Regions from separate parts of the Homo sapiens genome. Here regions 1, 2, 3 and 4 are each linked to region 5. The links are contacts of gene promoters, found by promoter capture Hi-C in human tissues and cell types (Jung and others, 2019). All regions are on one chromosome and are shown on one strand. Each heading gives the region's core, a stretch centred on a gene start or on the middle of the fragment in contact. The rest is flanking DNA. Distances are from core to core; before and after follow the strand shown. Region 1 holds the start of ZNF799 (zinc finger protein 799). Region 2 overlaps LOC124904638 (a long non-coding RNA gene). Region 3 overlaps ZNF442 (zinc finger protein 442). Region 4 overlaps ZNF44 (zinc finger protein 44). Region 5 holds the start of ZNF700 (zinc finger protein 700).

Region 1 (2,700 bases), core at 112-2,611, 480 kb before region 5:
ACCCTAAAAAAAAACTGGGTATAGAAGCAGCTACCTTAACATAATAAAAGCCATATATGGCAGACCCACAGCTAGCATGATAATGAATGAGGAAAAACTGAAAGCCTTTCCTGTAAGATCTGGAACACAATAAGAATGCCCACTTTTACCACTGTTGTTCAGCACAGTACTCGAAGTCCCAGCTAGAGCAATAAGTCCAAAAAAAAAAAAAAAAAGAAATAAAGGGCATCTATATTGGGAAGGAAAGGAAGAAGTCAAATTATCCTGGTTTGCATATAATATGATCTTATATCTGGAAATACCTAAAGACTCCACCAAAAAAGTATTAGAACTGAGAAATAAATTCAGTAAAGTTGCAGGATACAATATTAACATACAAAAATCAGTAACATTTTTATATGCCAACAGTGAACAATCTGAAGCTACTTGAGAGGCTGAGGTGGGAGGATTGCTTGAGCTTGGGAGGTAGAGGTTGCAGTGAGCCATGATGGCCCCACTGCACTCCAGCCTAGGCAACAGAGCAAGACCCCATCTCAAACAACCAAAAACGTGTAGAAGGATGGTTACCACAGGCTGGGAAAAGTAGTAGCGAGGAGTAGTTATGGGGGAAGTGGGGATGGTTAATAGGTATAAAAAATAGTTACAAAGAATGAATAAGACCTAGTATTTGCTAGCACAACAGAGTGACTATAGTAAAAAATAATTTAATTGTACATTGAAATATTTTGAAAAATTTCATTGAAAAAGAGTATAATTGGAGCCAGGCGCGATGGCTCACGTCTCTAATCCCAGAACTTTGGGAGGCCAAGGTGGGCGGATCACGAGGTCAGGAGTTCGAGACCAGCCTGGCCAACATGGTGAAACCCGGCCTCTACTAAAACATACAAAAATTAGCCGGGTGTGGTGGCGCGCACCTGTAATCCCAGCTACTCGGGAGGCTGAGGCAGAATTGTTTGAACCCACCTAGGAGGCGGAGGTCGCAGTGAGCCTCGCACCATTGCACTCTAGCCTGAGCCACGGAGCAAGACTCCCTCTCTCTCTCTCTCTCTCTCTCTCTCTCTCGGAAAAAAAAAAAAAAAAAAAAAAAAAAGTATAATTGTTTTGTCAGTCAGTGTACAGGAGGAAGAAGCAGGAGGTCCTATTGAGTACAGGCAGGAAATTCCGCTTAAGTGCAAATATCCCTCGGGAGGATTCAGATCAAAGAGCAGGGAGGAAGCCCGCCCTGCCAAGGGCTGTGTCAGGAACTTGCTCATCTGGCTCCACTCAGCTGTGCAAGATCGCTTCTTCTGTCAATCAGTCCACGAGGGGCGGCACCTGACGCCGTATCCAGTAAGGGCCGTGGGGCGGGTTCGTGGGAACTGTCAATCAGGCGCGCTTCCCAGAGGAGTGTGTGGTTGAAAAAGCCCGCGGCGTCTTCTCCACCCACCTGCGCTGGGCGCTCGGTGCTCGGCTCTGTAGCTAAGAGACGACCTGGAAGTTCCGTGGCAGCCTGTGTCCCGCGGGAACCCGCATTGGCAGCGGGAGCCGTCCGGAGGACCTGGGACACCGCGGAAGTCGGGAAATGGTGCGTGTGCTGGGCCGGCGTCCCGAGGCGGGGGAGGGGCTGGGTGGAACCTGCAGTAATCGGCTGTGGCTGGACCCGGGCCTCCCCAAGGGCTACTCCGGGATCTACGGACCCGGGTTCCCCTGGCGTAGGTCGGCCCTCGGCCGCAGGGTGGGGCTGGGCATGCAGCCGGGACCCCGGGCGTCCTGTCCCGTTCCTGCGCGGCGACTGCGGCCCCGGCGCCCTCTCTGGGCAGCTCCGCGCCCGCAGCCTCGCGTCTCCCGAGATTGTGCGGCTGTAAGCAACACAGGTTCGCGGCCCGACTCACTGCACCGAGACGCTGAGGGCTGCAGCAGAAACAGTTTAATAGCCAGAGAGGGGAGGACACCCCAGATCCGCCTCCCTGAGGGATTTGGGGTCTGGACGGGGGCGGCTGGGTGTAGGGTCGTTGGTTGGTGGGGAAGTGAGGGGTGAATCCTGGGACAGGAGGTGAAGAAACCGCATTCTGCTGAATGGGCTCCCTCGTTGGGACTTCAACCTGATTGGCGCCAGCCTTTGCTGGGATTCAGGATCTGAGAACTCCGGCGACTCTTGAGCAGTTCTCAGAGATCTTATCCCCAGGCACAATGGGGAAGCCGGCGGTCAGCGTCTGCTGTGACCTGACTCTCAGGGAGGCGGCCCCTTGAGGCAGCGGGGCTGAGGGCACCTGGTTAATATCTAACTGCAATCTCGCCTCCAGCCTGGCTCGCAGTTCCTGTGAACCCGGTGAGGAGGCTGCACGGTGACGACGAGTCACCAGGTGGAATCCAGACTCGTGTGTGGGGTTTGTGTGTGGGAGGAGCTGTGGTCTCCGTGGTCCTCAGTCCCTTCTTTCTTTCCAAGGGCGACCGTTTCCCCTCTGAGTCTTCCAAAGATGTGGTTAGCAGGGTCTCAAATCCACCACTGTGTTCTCTCATCCTGACTCCTCCTAGGGCTGGCAGCAAATCTCTTGGTTTCCAGAGACTTCCCCAGGCTAACCTTCTGTCCTTAATTCACAGCAACGGTATGAACTGTTTGGCCCCCAGGCGATATTTCACTAGTTTGTCATCTTGTTTTCAGCTAGCAATGTATGGCTTTTTCTTGAAAGAATTATTTTGGGTTCCTGAACACGGTGGGTC
Region 2 (2,700 bases), core at 4-2,503, 340 kb after region 5:
GGACTACAGATACACCCCACCATGCCTGGATAATTTTTTTAAACTTTTTGTAGAGACAGAGTCTTGCTATGTTGGCCAGGCTGGTCTTGAACTCCTAGGCTCAAGTGATCCTCCAACCGCAGCTTCCCAAAGTGTTGGGATTACAGGCATGAGTCACTGCACCTGGCCTCCATCCCTATTTAAAACAAAAAAAGAAAAAAGAAAGAAAGAAAACCAAACCAAACCAAAAAAAAACGTTGTCACGGATGACCTTGGCCGGAGGGTAAGCAGTTGGTGGTGCAGGAGGCATTGCTGACGATCATGAGGTTTTTGTATCTCTCATGGTTCATGTCCATCACAAACATGGGGGCATGGGCAGAGGGGGCAGAGATGGTGATCCCTTTGGCTGCCCATCCTAAGCGAGCCCCAGCCTTCCCCATGGTCGTGAAGATGCTGCTGGTGGACTCCATGACATAACCAGTGCCAGCATCGTCACCCAATTTGATTTTGCTGGGATCTGGCTTCTAGAAGATGGGGATGAGATTCCCATTTCCTATTGATGACAAGCTTCCCTTCTCTTTCTCAGTCTTTTCTTTTCTTTTTTTTTTTTTTTAAGAGAGAGAGGATCTCCCTATGTTGCCTAGGCTGGTCCTGAACTCCTGGTCTCAAGTGATCCTCCCACCTCAACCTCCTAAGTAGCTGAGATTACAAGCATGAGCCACCACACCCAGCCCACTTCTCAGCTTTGATGGTGCCGCGGAACTTGCCGTGGGTAGAATCATATTGGAACATGTAGACCATGTAGTTGAGGTCAATGAAGGGGTCATTGAGGTGACAACATCCATTCTGCCAGAGTTAAAAGCAGCTCTGGTGCCCTGGTGACCAGGCACCCAATATGGCCAAATCCATTTACTCCTGTCTTCACTTTCACCACGGTGTCTCGGGGACATGCCTTTTTCACTGCATGAAAAGATGTGGCTGTCTGTCAAATGGGAGGAGCAGAGAGGCTCTGCCTTTTTAATCTTTAAGAAAAAAAATTCAGGCTGGGCATGGTGGCTCACGCCTGTAATCCCAGCACCTTGGGAGGCCAAGGCAGGCGGATCACAAGGTCAGGAGATCCAGACCATCCTTACTAACATGGTGAAACCCCGTCTCTACTAAAAAATACAAAAAATTAGCTGGGCGTGGTGGCGGGCACCTGTAGTCCCAGCTACTTGGGAGGCTGAGGCAGGAGAATGGCGTGAACCCGGGAGGCGGAGCTTGCAGTGAGCCAAGATCGCGCCACTGCACTCCAGCCTGGGTGATGGAGCAAGACTCTGTCTCAAATAATAATAATAATAATAATTTAGATGGGGTCTCACTGTGTCACCCAGGCTTGTCTCAAACTCCTGGGCTCCAGTGATCCACCCACCTCAACCTCCCAAAGTGCTGGGATTACAGGTGTGAGCCACCACACCCGGCCTATTATTATTATTTGAGACAGTCTTGCTCTTGTCGCCCAGGCTGGAGTGCAGTGGCACGATCTTGGCTCACTGCAACCTCTGCTTCCCGGGTTCAAGCGATTCTCCTGCCTCAGCCTCCCGAGTAGCTGGGATTACAGGTGGCTGCCACCACGCCCAGCTAATTTTTTTTGTATTTTTAGTAGAGATGGGGTTTCACCTTGTTGGTCAGGCTGGTCTCAAACACCTGACCTCAGGTGATCCGCCCACCTCAGCCTCCCAAAGTGCTGGGATTACAGGCGTGAGCCACTGCTCCTGGCCCTGTCTTTTAATTTTTAAAGGGTAGGGGGCACCATGACCCATCTTTGCCCACCTAAACCACCTATTCAGCAGCCCATGCCCCGCAGCCCACAGCTGGGGGACATCATGCAAAATCTAAGTCAGATCTGTCCCTCTGATCAGAACCCTCTGTGGCTCCCACCTTACCCAGATAAAAGCCCCCTTCCCTGCAGCCCCCAAGAGCACACGCAACCTGCCCCACCCACACCCTTCTCTGTTCCTTGCCCTTGACCTTGCAGACTCAACCTTCCGGATTCACTTCCCCCTTGCTCACTCTGCTCCAGCCACAAAAGCCAATTTTTGGTTCCTCAAATCAAACTAACTCATGACAGCATTTTGAATTTTGAAGCCTTGGGGCCCCGAAAAAGTCCATCTTTTTTTTTTTTTTTTAAGATCGAGTCTCACTGTGTTGCCCAGGCTGGAGTGCGGTGGTGTGATCTCGACTCACTGCAACCTCTGCCTCCCTGGTTCAAGCAATTCTCCGGCCTCAGCCTCCCAAGTAGCTGGGATTACAGGTGCTCGCTGCCATGCCCAGCTAATTTTTTTGTATTTTAGTAGAGAAAGGGTTTCACCTTGTTGCCTAGGCTGATCTTGAACTCCTGAACTCAGGCAATCTGTCTGCCTCAGCCTCCCAAAGTGCTGGGATTACAGGCGTGAGCCACTGCGCCCGGCCCAAAAATCCATCTTTGTGGGTTCCTTTGTAAATGTGTAGTCAATTTAGAAATTTAGAAACACGGTTTCCCTTAAGCCTTTATTTAGTTACAATCACAACTAACATGTTACTTATACACCTGGCAAAGTGAAACATCAAAAAATTAATTCAGGGCCTGGCCTCAGGCCTGTAATCCCAGCACTTTGGGATGCCAAGGCAGACGGATCACTTGAGGTCAGGAGAATCGCTTGAACCTGGGAGACGGAGGTTGGGACGAGCTGAAGATCACAC
Region 3 (2,745 bases), core at 61-2,560, 420 kb before region 5:
CACGATGTTGCCTAGAGGGCAGTGTTACCCTTTGAACTACCAACATTAACCACTGGAACTGCTCATCTGGAAGCCTCTTACAGTGCTGGTACAAACTAGAATACACAAAGGAAGGGATCATTTTATACGTGTTACTGTGCTACTTGCTCTATCTACTTAGTGTTCCATACATGTAATTACCTATTCCATCCTATCCCAAAGTACTGAAAATCTCCATTCTACTTTCTCTGTCTGTGAATTTGACTATTCATAGAGAGAGAGATATGTGGAAGTATGCATGTGTCCTTCCATGTCTGGCTTATTTCACTTAGAACGTTTTCAAGGTTTATCCATGTGGTAGCATGTATCAGGAACTCATTGTTTTTGTGTCTGAATAAATTTCCACTGTATGGTTAAAGCATACTTTGTTTATCCATTTTTATGTTGATAAACATGGGTTGTTTCCACAGTAATAATTTGACTGCTATCAATAAGGCTGCTGTGGATGTGGTATGTCTATGTCTGTGTGAGTCCCTGCTTTCAATTCTTTTGGATATATGTATCCCTAGGAGTGTAATTGCTGGTTCACAGAATAATTGGTGTAAACCTTTTTCAGGAACAGGTATATTGCTTTACAAAGTGGCTACAATGTTTTACATTCTCTCCAGCAATGCATAAGGGTTTCTATTTTCCACATTGTCACATATACTGGTTGTCGTATTTTTTTCATAATAGCCAATTAATGGTTCTGTACTGCTTTTTCATTGTGGTTTTGATTTGCATTTCCCTAATGACCAATAATAATGCACATTGGTTTTTGTTTTTGTTGGTTGTTTATATATTTTTTGAACCAGTTTGTTTTAAAATCCTTTGCTCATTAAAATTGAGTCATTTGTGTTTTGTTGTTGAGTTATAGGAATTCTTATTTAAAATTTTTAGTTTTTAATATTTAGAAAATTTCTTTCTTTTTTCAGCTCCCAAGTGCTTGGAAGAGAGTTGTAGGAATTCTTTATACACTGTGGGTATTAAGCCCTTATTTGATATGTGATATGCAGATGTGTTCTCCCTTTCTGTAGGTTTTCTTTTCATCTTGAGATTGTCCTTTGGTGCGCAAAAGTTTTTAATTTCGATGTAGTCCAGTTTATCTTTTATTGGTTGTCTGTGCCTTAAATGTCGTATCCAATAAATCACTGCCAAATTTAACAAAATTTTCCCCTATGTTTTCTGCTAAGTAATTTTTTTTTCTCCCTCTGTCACCCAGGCTGGAGTGCAGAGGCATGATCTTGACTTACTGCAACCTCCACCTCAGGTTCAAGTGATTCTCATGCCTCAGCCTCCCAAGTAGTCAAGTAGCTGGGATTATAGGCACCCACCACCACGCCTGTCTAAATTTTGTATTTTTAGTAGGGACAGAGTTTAACCATGTTGGCCAGGCTGGTCTCCAATTCCTGACCTCAAGTGATCTGCTCGGCCTCCCAAAGTGCTGGGATTACAGCCATGAGCCACTGTACCCAGGCTCTTCTAAGTATTTTATAGTTTTAGCTTTTAAGTATAGGTCTTTGATTAAATATAAGTTACTATTTATACATGATGTAATGTGATGGTTCACTTTTATTATTTGCATGTAGATATCCAGTTTTCCCAACACCATTTTTTGAAAGATTGTCCTTCTACCAAAGAACGGTCTTGGCACTGTTGTCAAAAATCATTTCACCCTGTATATGAGCATTTATTTCTAGGCTGTCTACTCTATTCCATTGGCCTATCTGTTTGTCTTTATGCCAGTACCATACTGTTTTGATCACTGTAGCTTTGTAGTAAGTTTTGAAATAAGGCAGTGTGAATTCTTCAACATTGTTCTTTTTCAAGATTGTTTTGGTATTAGAGATCCCTAGAGATTTGAAGTGAATTTTAGAATAGGCTTTTCTATTTCTGTATAAGAAGCTGTTAGGATTTCTATAGGGATCACATTGATTCTGTAGATTGATTTTGGTAGTATTTTAATCTTAGCAATAGTAAGTCTTGGAATCCATGAACATGGGATATCTTTCCATTCATTTATCTTCCTTAATTTGCTTCAAGAATGTTTTGTAGTTTTCAATGTACACATCACTGATTTCTTGGTTTCATTTATTTTTAAGTGTTTTACTTTTTTTGATGCTTTTATAACTAAAATTATTTTCTTAATTTTCTTTTTGGATTGTTTATTCATTGTTAGTCTATTGTTTATTCATTGTTAGCAGCTGATTTTTGTGTATTGATTTTATATTCTGCAACATTGCTGCATTTGTTTTATAAGCTGTAAAATTTTATTTTTCCCTTGTGGAGTCTTCAGTGTTTTCTCCACATAGAATCATGTAATCTGTAAACACAGATAATTTTACTTCTTTCTCTCCAATTTGGATTCCTTTTATTTCTTTTTCTTACCTTATTTCTGTAGCTATAACTTCCATTAGTATGTTGAATAGAACTGTTGAAAGTGGGCATCCTGTCTTCTTGATATTAGAGGGAAGGCTTTCAGTCTTTCAAATTGACCATGTTACCTACAGGTTTTTCATATGTGACTTTTTTCCTATTAAGGAAGTTTCTTTCCATTCCTGGTTTATCAAATGTATTTTTTAAAAGGAACATAAGGTATTTAATTTTGTCAAATTATTTTTCTGTATCATTTGAGATGATAAATGTGTTTTTTGCCTTTTCTTCGTTAATGTGGTACATTACATTGATTGCTGTATATTGAACCACTTTTGCATTCTGGGAATAAAT
Region 4 (2,700 bases), core at 158-2,657, 350 kb before region 5:
CCACAAACAGAGTTTTACCCACATATTTATTGACAGTAAGCCAGTGATAAGCGTTGTTTCTATAGATTATAGACTAACTAAAAGCCTTCCTTACGGGAAACAAAGGGAAGGGCTCTGGCTAGTTATCTGCAGCAGGAACTTGTCCTTAAGGCACAGATGGCCCATGCTATTGTTTGTGGTTCAGGAACGCCTTAAGCAGTTTTCCACCCTGGGTGGGCCAGGTGTTCCTTGCCCTCATTCCGGTAAACCAACAACCTTCAGCATGTGCGTCATAGCCATCACGAGCATGTCACAGTGCTGCAGAGATTTTGTTTATGGCTAGATTTGGGGGCCTGTTCCCAACACCTTGGCCTCCCAAAGTACTGGGATTACAGGTGTGAGCCACCACACCTGGCCTTCTAATGTATGTCTTAGTCATCTTGTGTTGTCCTAGGTGGTTGCACACTTTTTGTGTATTTTACAACATTTTAAAGTAGTTCCTGCCCAGTTTGACTCTGATTGGATTCTGTTGTAGATGAAATAGAAAAGAGAGCCTTGTTTCAGACCTTCGGTTAGTCCCCAGACTGATTCAAAAATACAAAGGCAATAATGTGGAAACAAAATGTGATCTGTACACTCTGTGGTGATCAGAGTTCTACACTGGGAACTCTGCTGTCTTCAGGACTGGCAATGAGATGGGCAGAGATGGGGCCAAAGAAAAAACAATACAAGGCTTTTCTATCATTTTTCACTTTCCTGTTTATGTATCTTTTTCTCTCTGTTAATAGTATGGGATGTGAAAAATTACAGTTTTAAATCTTCTGTTTGTTTTTGTAAAGCTGTCTACTTTCTTGATGAGAAGGTTTTTTTTAAGCATCTTTAGACATTTATGACTTCTATAAAAATTGGTTTATGTAATGTTATTGATTATTAAATGTCTGCTGTTGAGATTTATGGAATATAATTGATATTCATGAAAGCTGACACTGAATTCTGTCTAAGAACATTTGCAGTCTGTCCTCTTCTTTTCTTTCTCCTTCGACATTACCCAGTAGAAAGTTACAATTTTTTCTATTTAGTTGGTAAAATCTCTTTTATTAGTCTTTTGTCATACTTAACTACATTTGATCTACAGGGAACCAGTCACCAGCTTCCAAATATTCTCTCTGTGTAATCACGTAGGATAGGCTAAATCCCCCAAGTAAGACATTGAAAAAACAACAACAACAAAAATATGAAATATCATCTACCAGAGTTGCACATTAGGGACCCTGTGCCTAGAGTGTTTCTTTGTGTATGTCTTAGTCTATAAGACTGTTTTTTTGTTACTTACAACAGGATACCAGAACTGGGGTAATCTATAAGAAATGATATTTATTTTTTGCAGTTCTGAAAGCTGGGAAGATCAAGTAAGGTCAAAGTGGGCATCTGGTGGGAATCTTCTTGCTGATGGGGACTCTGTAGAGTCCCTGGGTGGTACAGGGCATTACATGATGAGGGGGCTGAGTGTCTAGCTGAAGTATCTTCCTCTTCTCATAAGGACACCAGAACCTCATCTGTGATAACCAGTTTATTTATTAAGCCATTCATACATGAGTGGATTAATCCATCCATGTGTTCCAAACCCTCAAGACCCACTCACCTCTTAAACCACTACCTTTGATTACTTCCACATTGGAGATTCAGTTTCAGCCTGCATTTTGGAGGGGAAGACATTCAAACCTAGCAGTGGCTGATTGGGTACACTTCCTCTGCTGAGGATGTAATACAATTCCAAACTCTCAGAGGGAAGTTAGGAGTTAAGCAAATACCATAATTTTTACACAAATAGTTTAGGCACACTCCACCCCCTTTATTAGTTATGCTTACGGGGCCCTCCCCTAAATACATTGTCTAGACACCACGAAAGGTTCAACATTGTGAACAAGCAGTTGTAAGGATATGCCGTCTCAGGACTGCTAATTGTAACTCTCTTTTGCACAGTAGGTGGTAGGACTTTGTCATGACAAGGACTACAGACCCACTGTAGAAACAGACATTAGGAGTAATCCAGGCAATAAGATTCACTTGCATAATTCACCAATAAGAGATATGTTCCTACTCAACTGTTATTTTAGCAAGCCCAATTCCAGCATCAGAATTCCAGCATCAGACAGTGAGTGCAGACACAGAATAAGAGTGGATTTACCACGTCATTGAATAAATGCTTGGAAACCACAGCATCATGGGAAGTTTATGAAGGTGAGTATAGGTTCTCAGTACTGTGAGTTTCAACCTTCCTTTTCTGGACATATGGGATGTTTCAGGACTCAGTGGCCTTTGAGGATGTGGCTGTGAACTTCACCCATGAGGAGTGGGCTTTGCTGGGTCCATCACAGAAGAATCTCTACAGAGATGTGATGCGAGAAACCATTAGGAACCTGAACTGTATAGGTATGGATGACATCATGTCTTCATTTGGTCAATTAGAGACATTTGTTTTGTGGTCATCAATGCTGTTCAGTGATTTGAAATATGGAAAAGGGATACAGTTCATTCCTGAACAACACAGGGTGAAGTGCCAGGCCCCAACCTGTTGTATGTCCTCATATAATCTTTTGTCTGCCACAGCTTAACCTACTTTTGACCAGCAGCCTTATCAGTCATATAAACAAGTGACGAGCACATATATGTCATATGTATTGCATACTGTATTCTCAGAATAAAGTAAGTTAGAGAAAG
Region 5 (2,700 bases), core at 162-2,661:
ACTCAGGAGGCTGAGGCAGGAGAATCACTTGAACCCGGAAGGTGGAGGTTGCAGTGAGCCGAGATCAGGCCATTGCACTCCAGTCTGGGCGACAGGAGACTCCGTCTCAAATAAAAACAAAGTACCTTTCCAGCTAAGTGAAGTGACCGGCTCTTGGCCAACAGGACCCGCAAAAAACCCTGAAAATTGAGTGCCTCTGTATGACAGGATGGGAGGTGAGACAGGTCTCCTTATACCCTCTCCCACACATTCATGTAAAAATAGATAGAATGGAAAAACAGACTGCTTGTGGCAAGAAGATACTAACTTACAAACAAAACCTAAGGCCACGCAAGGCAAAAGTAAAGTCACGCCTCAGAATTCATAAAATCTAGAGAAACAGGTCTGTTTTCTGGCTGGGATGGAATCAAGTGGCAGATAACAGACCCCCTTCCTTCCTACCTCCTCCAAACTTTAGACAAACTTCACACTCTCAACCAGCTGCCACCTACAGAATCCCTCAACCACCTGTGCCTTCTAACCCCCCTTCCACAGGTCCCACCCTTTCTGCCAATGGAACTTACACCTTTCAGGCACTGATTCATCATTTTCCCTGCAATTCCTGTCTCTCTGAAATGAATAAAACCAAACTGTCTTGAGCCGCCTCGGGACCACTTACTCCAGGCTGCTTGGGGTTGTGTTTCCCTCGGCCAAGGTCTCTCCTATTCGGCTCTGAATAAACTTCTTTATTTTACATAGTTTGGCTTTTTCCGTTGACAAACCACAACCCAGGACGGGGTGTTTCTCATTCGTGAATCGCTGTTTGCTCAAATGAACTCTTTAATTGTTAACGTACCTCAGTTTAATTTTTAACAGGAGAAAGTGGGGACTGGGGGCCCCACAGACCACTGCTCCTCCCACGCACGAACCCCACACCCGAGTCAGGATGCCTCCATGACCCTCCCGTTGCTTCCGCACAATCTGGGGAGACGCGGGGCTGCGGGAGCGGAACTGCCCAGAGAGGGCTCCGGGGCAGGGGCCGCGGCCGCAGTCGCCGCGCAGGGACGGGACAGGACGCCCGGGTCCTGGCTGCTGGCCCAGCCCCGTCCAGCGGCCAAGGGGACCGAGGGCCGAACTGCTCAAGGAGGACTCGGTCCCAGACCCCGGAGTCGCCCACAGGGAGGCCCGGGTCCCGCCACAGCCGGTTCCCGCCTGTTCCAGGCAGCCCCTCCCCCGTCTCACGACATCTGGTCCCGCACACGCACCATTTCCCGGCTTTCAGATGTACCGGGGTCCTCTCTACAGCTCCTGTGACTACAGCAGGGCATAGCGCAGGCGACAGAGCGACAGAAGCCTGGGTACAGGCACCAGGTCCCTCTCGGGCTGGTCTGACCGGTTACCAACCGCCGCCCGCGCAGCGAGGAAGGTGAGGAAAGCGACCCCCTCCATTTCCGGATGAACTGTGGGCAGTGCCACGCCCCAGCACCTCTGATTGGATGAAATACTAGGTCCCGCCCCCCACATCTGAGTGACAGCTGAAGCCCTGGGTATCAGGCCCCGCAGAGCCAGACTGACGGATTCTAGCCACAGCTTCTCTAAGGGCGAGCTGCTTTCTGCACTCTGGTTATTGGATATTTGCATTTCAGCCAAACTTGCTATTGATAGAAGAGAACACTAGCGTCATCCTCACTCAAGGGACAGTCCCCGCTCCTTCGTTCTGCACGGGGTCACAGGAGTGTGCAGGGAATTTCAGACTCAGTGTCCATAGGAGCCAACTGCTGGCCTCAGAGCAGCAGGGGAACCGAGACCAGGCCAGGCACGACTGCACCAGGAGGAGAGGCATATGTCCTCGAGCGGGCCGGAATTGGGGATGAGGCGTGGCCAAGCCTTGCTCACACACCCCCATCCCCTTGTGAAAATGCTTCCTCCTTTCAGATCTTCATTTTCACCAGCAGGAAACTCTCACCAGGTTTTGTTTCTGACCTAAGTAAACTGTCAACTTCATGAACCCTTTATCCAGGTGACGCCACCAAACAATTCTGTCTCTAGCTCTAGCCTGATCTTCACACATTTTCTTTTCTTTCTTTCTTTTTTTTTTTTTTTTTTTGAGACGGAGTCTTGCTCTGTAGCCCAGGCTGGAGTGCAGTGGTGCGATCTCGACTCACTGCAAGCTCCGCCTCCCGAGTTCACGCCATTCTCTTACCTCGGCCTCCGGAGTAGCTGGGATTAAAGGCGCCCGCCACCACGCCCGGCTAATATTTTGTATTTTCAGTGGAGACGGGGTTTCACCGTGTTAGCCAGGATGGTCTCGATCTTCTGACCTCTTGATCCGCCCGCCTCGGCCCCGCAAAGTGCTGGGATTACAGGCGTGAGCCACCGCGCCCGGCCACACATTTTCTTTATCTATACAAATAACTCTGACCCCAACGACCCCATGCATGTCAAACCCCAAACCCTGCCCAGAAGACAGCTCCAGAGGTACAACACCAGAAAGGACAGAGACGCCACAAATGCGTCTGCACATGGGTCTTCTGCTTTCCAGGGCTCTGCAGCTTCTCGGAATCCACACCCTTTCTGGAGCTGCTCTGAGCAGCTGGAGGCCACTTGTAGAAGGGGGTGGGCTGCCCGCGAAGCCCCCAGGGAAACTCTCTTTCCCTCCCTTTGCAGGCTGCAGAGACTGTCCTCAACGTGGAATCACTGGCCTTGGGCTCTGCTGCCCCC

What was found. The method cuts DNA at HindIII sites, captures the fragments that hold promoters and counts their contacts. A contact is called where the count stands out against the background at its distance.
Region 1: a contact is called between the fragment with the promoter of ZNF799 here and the fragment with the promoter of ZNF700 in region 5, in 3 of the 25 tissues and cell types used here (heart left ventricle, mesenchymal stem cells and spleen).
Region 2: a contact is called between a fragment that was not itself captured here and the fragment with the promoter of ZNF700 in region 5, in 1 of the 25 tissues and cell types used here (lymphoblastoid cells).
Region 3: a contact is called between a fragment that was not itself captured here and the fragment with the promoter of ZNF700 in region 5, in 4 of the 25 tissues and cell types used here (bladder, dorsolateral prefrontal cortex, hippocampus and 1 more).
Region 4: a fragment that was not itself captured here is called in contact with the fragment with the promoter of ZNF700 in region 5 in 2 of the 25 tissues and cell types used here (lymphoblastoid cells and mesenchymal stem cells).

What each region holds. Positions count from the first base shown.
Region 1 is chr19:12,399,932-12,402,631 of GRCh38, reverse strand. It overlaps ZNF799 (zinc finger protein 799), which reads left to right and starts at 1,361. Exons shown (of 4, transcript NM_001080821.3): 1 at 1,361-1,564. The coding sequence starts at 1,562. RefSeq lists enhancers at 1,207-1,256, 1,977-2,066 and a silencer at 1,587-1,746. The HindIII fragment of the contact is 18,323 bases long and covers 1-2,700 here.
Region 2 is chr19:11,583,459-11,586,158 of GRCh38, reverse strand. LOC124904638 (a long non-coding RNA gene) reads right to left here. Exons shown (of 2, transcript XR_007067140.1): 2 at 2,495-2,700. It also overlaps the pseudogene GAPDHP76. Among named protein-coding and RNA genes, the nearest start is that of ACP5, 7.2 kb to the right of the region's middle. RefSeq lists enhancers at 2,065-2,124, 2,135-2,274. The HindIII fragment of the contact is 7,524 bases long and covers 1-2,700 here.
Region 3 is chr19:12,344,386-12,347,130 of GRCh38, reverse strand. It overlaps ZNF442 (zinc finger protein 442), which reads left to right. Exons shown (of 6, transcript NM_030824.3): 6 at 1-1,187. It also overlaps a transcript of ZNF563 not described here. Among named protein-coding and RNA genes, the nearest start is that of ZNF563, 12 kb to the right of the region's middle. The HindIII fragment of the contact is 8,186 bases long and covers 1-2,745 here.
Region 4 is chr19:12,275,668-12,278,367 of GRCh38, reverse strand. ZNF44 (zinc finger protein 44) reads left to right here. Exons shown (of 4, transcript NM_016264.4): 2 at 2,286-2,412. Among named protein-coding and RNA genes, the nearest start is that of ZNF44, 18 kb to the left of the region's middle. The HindIII fragment of the contact is 9,813 bases long and covers 1-2,700 here.
Region 5 is chr19:11,923,818-11,926,517 of GRCh38, reverse strand. ZNF700 (zinc finger protein 700) reads right to left here and starts at 1,411. Exons shown (of 4, transcript NM_144566.3): 1 at 1,245-1,411. The coding sequence starts at 1,307. It also overlaps a transcript of ZNF69 not described here. RefSeq lists a silencer at 949-1,148 and enhancers at 1,539-1,648, 1,699-1,748, 1,196-1,768, 1,925-2,700. The HindIII fragment of the contact is 4,963 bases long and covers 1-2,700 here.